Linked DNA regions of Homo sapiens: region 1 is linked to region 2. Evidence: promoter capture Hi-C in human tissues and cell types (Jung and others, 2019). All regions are on one chromosome and are shown on one strand. Each heading gives the region's core, a stretch centred on a gene start or on the middle of the fragment in contact. The rest is flanking DNA. Distances are from core to core; before and after follow the strand shown.

Region 1 (3,105 bases), core at 398-2,897, 51 kb before region 2:
GGAAAAGAAGAAAAGTAGAATATGAGGGAGTCAGAGATTCTCCCAAAGGAAATGCAGCCCAGAGCAAGAAGGGTCTGGAAAGGGTCACTCCTGACCAAGGGCAATGCCTGCCCAGCTCTGGTGAGGGCCTGGTGGGGAAAGCAGATGCCCATCCCCAGAGAAGCTGCCACCCCAGGGGTGGTCTACCCAGCTGCCTCCTGAAGGCCACTTGTCAGCACTCTCTGAATGGAGAGCTAGGAACACTTTCTAGGGACAGGAGGCAGAGAGACAGACCATGAGGTTCTACGGGCACAAAGTGTCCCAGGGCCCCTCCCCGTGGTGATCTGTCCCAAAACAAGGCCACCTCTGCTTGGGACAAAGCCAAATGTGGCCAGGAGATCTCAGGCAGAGTAAAAAGCAAATAGGCCCCAGAGAACTGGGAGGAAGACGGGATAAGTGGCATGTGTCAGAGTAAGGTACCATAGGGTGACCCCAGGGTTCCAGCAGGTAGAAGCCTCCACAGCAGCTCCACCGAACAGCCAGTGTGGCCGCTCTGAGCAATCTGGAGCTACCTTGGAGGGGAGATAGGCGGGGTGATAGACCTGCACCTCTCAACCTCTGGTCACGCTCCTGGCGTATCTGCTCCCGGATGAGCCTCTGCTGTTCCTCCAGCTGCCGGGAACCCTCTTCTCTCAGGCGTTCGATCTGCAGAGCAGGGGGTGGGGGTGACAATTCTGTGCAGGTCCAATTCCAGGCTGGCTCACCTTGTAAAAAGTCCTTGGGAGCTTCCACCTGCAAGCTAGGGCTCAGCAACCTGTGGGTGGGACAAATCACCCAGCTCCCACTGAAGGTGCAAAGAGCATGCCCTCTCTAGCCACGGCGACCACCAGGTCCATCCTCCCCCACCTCCTCCTCCTGCAGGTGGCCTTCTGGCCAGTGTGCCTGAGTGCTCACCTCTTGCTCTAGTGTCCTGGTGCTCCGGCTCTCCTCTTCCTCCTCACTCTCCTGGGCCTGGGCCTGCCGCTCCCGGGCCTCCAGGTCTAGACACAAGGGTTGAATGACCAGACTGCTGGTCTGTTCAGTTTCCATGTGGCCTCGGCCCACCCCAGCTCTGGCTGCCTCCCCAAAGTCTCAATCACGACGAGATCATACAGTAACTCTGCCCCCTCCCTCCATGCCCACGCCCCCGAGTCAATTTCCATTGAGAAAAATCACAGCACAGAAGTATGGGGTCTAGCAGAGTGGCCAGGGGTCTGGAAGAGTTAAAAACAGCTCACACTGACCAAGCTGGTTCTCTCTAGTGAACAGGGTGTGGGTGGTGCTTATGTCAGCAGCCCAGGGCCATGTGTCAGGGGTGCCAATGGGCGGAGCTGCTGGGCTCGATTCCTGTGGTTTGGCACCACAGCTTGACTTGCTTTGGCTTTGATTCTTTTCACACACTGAGCTCAGGTTCTCACTGTCTCCTTTACCTCCCACCTCAACTCACATTTACCAAGCCTCACTGTGGACCTGGCTACAGGGATGGGCAGAGTGTTAGGGCATCACCCCGGGTCCTGGATTGTGTGAGGGCGTTACCTTCCAAGAGAAACCTGCTTGCAACCATGTGCCAGGCCAGCTGCTGTGAGAAACCCTTCTCTTAGTCCAGAGAAGTTTGTGCACTTTACTTACTTAGACTCTCCTTTTCTCTCTCTCTCTTTTTTTTTTTTTTTTTTTGAGATGGGGTCTCCTGGCACTTGCTTTTCTTTTAATATAGAAATAGATATTGGGATGCTATATGCACATATTAAAATATATGGATGTTGAAGAGCAAGAGGAAAAGGAGAAACTTGAGTAAAGAATGCTTGGACTGGGCCAGGCGCGGTGGCTCACGCCTGTAATCCCAGCACTTTGGGAGGCCAAGAGGGGTGGATCACCTGAGGTCAGGAGTTCGAGACCAGCCTGGCCAATGTGGCAAAACTCCGTCTCTACTAAAAATACAAAAATTAGCCGGGTGTGGTGGTGCGCAACTTAGTCCCAGCTACTCGGGAGGCTGAGGCAGGAGAATCGCTTGAACCCAGGAGGCAGAGGTTGAAGTGAGCCGAGATCGTGCCACTGCACTCCAGCCTGGGCAACAAGAGCGAAACTCCGTTTAAGAAAAAAAAAAAAAGAGTGCTTGGACCATGCTGCTATAACCAGTGACTTTTTTTTAAGTGAGAAAAAAAAAATGCTTGCAGCAATCTTATTGGGTTGATGAAAATGTTCCAAATCTGATTTATAGTCAGAGTTGCATCATTTAGTAAATTTACGAAAAATCATTGAAGTGTACACTTGAAATGGGTTGATGTTGTGATATACAAAGAATACCTCAATAAAGCTATTAGAGAAGAGAAAGCCTGGACCTCTTTGAATCCTTCTGAGGGAGCTTCTCAAAGTGAAAAGTCTGGGTAGGAATTGGGGTTAGAACAAATTAAAAGACCCAGCCGGGCACAGCGGCTCGCACCTGTAGTCCCAGCTACTCAGGAGGCCAAGGCAGAAGGACTGCTTGAGCCCAGGAGTTTGAGGCTGCAGTGAGCCATGATGGTGCCACCCTAGCCTGGGTGACAGTACAAAACCCCGTCTTTCTTTAAAAAAAAAAAAAAGAAGAAGAAGACTCAGCCAGAAATGGTGAATACAAGCACCAATTTTTTTGTTTTGTTTTGTTTTTTGAGATGGAGTTTTGCTCTGTCACCCAGGCTAGAGCACAGCAGCGTGATCTCAGCTCACTGCAACCTCTGCCTCCCGGGTTCAAGCAATTCTCTGCCTCAACTTCTCGAGTAGTTGGGATTACAGGCACCCGCCACCACACCCAGCTAATTTTTGTATTTTTAGTAGAGAAGGGGTTTCACCATCTTGGCCAGGCTGGTCTCGAACTCCTGACGTCGTGATCCACCCGCCTCGGCCTCCCAAAGTGCTGGGATTACAGGCGTGAGCCACCGCGCCCGGCCACAAGCACCAATTTTACTCACACTGGATAAGTTTAAATCCCACCTCCAGCAAGCTCTTAAACTTTTGGTGCCTTAGCTCCTTTGCCTATAAAAAATGGCTTCAGAGGCCAGGTGCGGCAGCTCACCAGCTGTAATACCAGCACTTTGGGAGACTGAGGTGGAT
Region 2 (3,201 bases), core at 16-2,515:
GGTTGCAGTGAGCCAAAATCACGGCATTGCACTCCAGGCTGGTTTACAGAGTAAGACTGTCTCAAAAAAAGGCAAAAGAAAAAAGAAATGTGGCCCATGTGACTGGGGAACTGAATAATTTTATTTAATTATAACTCATTTAAAGTCAAACAGCTACACATGGCTGATGGCTACAGAATTGGAAAATGTAGCTCTAGGCTGGGCATGGTGGTGCACACCTGTAATCCCAGCACTTTGAGAGGCCGAGGCAGGCAGACTGTTTGAGCCAAGGAGTTCAAGACCAGCCTGGGCAACATGGTGAAAAGCCGTCTCTACAAAAAAAAATACAAAAAAATTTGCCAGGCGTGGTGGTGCGCACCTGTAGTCCCAGCTACTCAGGAGGCTGAAGTGGGAGGATGGCTTGAACCCAGCAGGCAGAGCAGTGAGCTGAGATTGCACTACTGCATTCCAGCCTGTGCAACAGGGCAAGACTTTGTCTCAAAAACAAACAAACAAACAAAAAACAAAAGAAAGAAAGAAAGAAAGAAACAAAGAAAAAGAAAAGAAACGAAAATGTAGCTCCGGACATGTATGTGCATTGAACATGGGAGTAAATAAAGATATAAAATTTTGAAACATAGTGTGACCAAGCATTTTCCCTTCTATTGTCTCATTTGAGCCTCAGAAAGTCCTATAAAGGAGATATGACAGGCACTAACAGCCCTATTATAGATTAGGGATGTTAAAAGACCTTCCCCAGATCACAAAGAGCATTAGAGGCACAGACAAGCCTAGAGGGAGGCAGACTTCTGGACTTCAAACCGATGCTTCTTTCTTTCATCAGTTACAAAAGCTTTCTCTTCACGGAAGCACCTCACATCAGCCCTCCAGCTCCTGTGAAGGTCTCAGTGCCCTGGGTGGACCCCAGGCCCCCATCTCCTCCCACTATCCGCTGTGCTACCTACCTGGAAGAGCTCCTGAACTTGAGCATCCACCCATTGCTCCATCTCCAGCCAGCGCTGGAGCTGGCCCCGGTCATACTTCACTGTCAGGCGGCTGGGTCTCCGGGACCTGGGTATCTTGGAGGAGTCCGGGTGGGACTTGGACTCTGAGTCTGTGGATGATGTCCTTCTCCTCCCAGAAGCCCAGTGGACCTTCTTACATGGGTTCTCCCCATCTGGGCTGGGAGATGTGCAGGAAGCAGGGCTTGAAGACAGCATGGAAGTATTGGTCTGGGCAAGGAGCTGGGAAAAACCGCCAGTTCTGAGCAGAGCCACAGAGGGAAGTGAGGAGACAGAGAACAGGAGAGGCCAGCAGAGAAGAAATGAAGGCAGGAGGAGGGCCAAGGCTCCCAGGGAGGGGCAAGGGCAAAGATCAATAGGACTTTGGTGCTGGGAATGCCAGTCTCCTGGCTCCTCACTGCCAGCCAGTGAGTGGCACTCCAGAGCCATGCCCCAGCCTCCCTTTCTGCAGCTTCTAGGGCCCAAAGTGGCATAAACTGCAGATGAGCAAAGGTCAAGAGGCTGCCATGCCCAGGGAGGAGGAAGGGGCCCTGGGGTCCTGAAGGGTACAGGGCTCCAATCGCTGCTCTATGGCCAGCTCTGGAATGGGACCTGAGTCGTTCTCACCTGAGATCCCTCTGTATCCCACCTTCCTGGGGCTGGATCCACTCTGGGCTCTGAGAAGCTGTGGTCAGATTCCGCAGAAGCAGGGTCCCTGGCTGGCAGGGATTCTTACTCAGAGCGTAGCACTACTGGGGGCAGAGCCCCAGCTGGTAGATAGAGTTGGAGGTCAGTTATTGATGGCTCCCGTAGGACCAGTGCCCCCAGTGTCTGGGTGTGTCCGAATGTAAACTGCTATCAGCCTGGCCTATAAAGGCAGTTTACCTGCTTGTAAAGGCAAATTTATCAAGACTTGTCTACTATGCCCGCTCCCCTGAGGCAACTGCTTAGGAAGCCATGTTTATTACCACGTGACCCTCCCCCGATTCATGTATTTGCTGACACAGAGGAAACCTGCAAACCTAACTTATACACAGGTGTCAGGGACTAATACTTCCAGGCATACATACTTGCATTCTAAGGCAGGGTATTTTTGTTTAGTCTTTTATAATGAAAATTTCTAAACTTTAAAAAAAAAAAGTGACAGAAGAACACTGTAATTTTTTTTTTTTTTTTTTTGAGATGGAGTCTCGCACTGTCACCCAGGCTGGGGGGCAATGCTGCGATCTTGGCTCACTGCAACATCCGCCTCCCAAGTTCAAGCAATTCTCCTGCCTCAGCCTCCCAAGAAGCTGGGATTACAGGCGCCCACCACCATGCCCGGATAATTTTTTGTATTTTTAGTAGAGACGAGGTTTCACTATGTTGCCCAGGCTGGTCTCAAATGCCTGACCTCATGATCCACCCGCCTCGGCCTCCCAAAGTGGTGGGATTACTGGAGTGAGCCACCGTGCCCAGCCTGTAATTTTTTTAAAATGGGGCCAGGCATGGTGGCTCACGCCTGTAATCCCAGCACTCTGGGAGGCCGAGGCGCGTGGATTGCTTGAGCTCAGGAGTTCAAGACCAGCCTGGGCAAAATGGTGAAATTCTCTCTCTACCAAAAAAAAAAATAATAATAATACAAAAAATTAGCTGCTTTGGGAGACCCAGGCGGGAAGATTGCTTGAGGCCAGTAGTTCAAGACCAGTCCGGGCAACACAGTGAGATCTTGTCTCCATTAAAAAATGTAAACAATGGGCCAGGCACGGTGGCTCATGCCTGTAATCCCAGCACTTTGGGAGGCTGAGGTGGACAGATGACTTGAGGTCAGGAGTTTGAGATCAGCCTGGCCAACATGGCAAAACCCTGTCTCTACTAAAAATACAAAAATTAGCCGGGCGTGGTGGCACACGTCTGTAGCCCCAACTATTCAGGAGGCTGAGGGAGGAGAATCGCCTGGGCCCAGGAGGCGGAGGTTGCAGTGAGCCGAGATCATGCCACTGCACTCCAGCCTGGGTGACAGAGCAAGACCCCGTCTCAAAAAAAAAAAAAAAAAAAAAGTAAAAAATGAAAAGCAAGATTACTCAGATATGGTGGTGCACACCTGTCATCCTAGCTGCTTGGAAGGTGGGAAAATCACTTCAGCCCAGGAGTTCAAGGCTACAGTGAGCTACAATGGCAACACTGCACTTAAGCATGGGTGACAGAGCAAGACCCTGTCTCAAAAAAGGAAAAAGGCGAA

The links. Contacts are between HindIII fragments. The study calls those that stand out against the background at their distance.
Region 1: a fragment that was not itself captured here is called in contact with the fragment with the promoter of PPP1R14D in region 2 in 2 of the 25 tissues and cell types used here (IMR-90 fibroblasts and aorta).

Annotation. Positions count from the first base shown.
Region 1 is chr15:40,775,609-40,778,713 of GRCh38, forward strand. It overlaps DNAJC17 (DnaJ heat shock protein family (Hsp40) member C17), which reads right to left. Exons shown (of 11, transcript NM_018163.3): 5 at 934-1,019; 6 at 588-684. Among named protein-coding and RNA genes, the nearest start is that of C15orf62, 7.2 kb to the left of the region's middle. The HindIII fragment of the contact is 3,866 bases long and covers 1-3,105 here.
Region 2 is chr15:40,827,443-40,830,643 of GRCh38, forward strand. It overlaps PPP1R14D (protein phosphatase 1 regulatory inhibitor subunit 14D), which reads right to left and starts at 1,266. Exons shown (of 4, transcript NM_017726.8): 1 at 945-1,266. The coding sequence starts at 1,199. The HindIII fragment of the contact is 14,686 bases long and covers 1-3,201 here.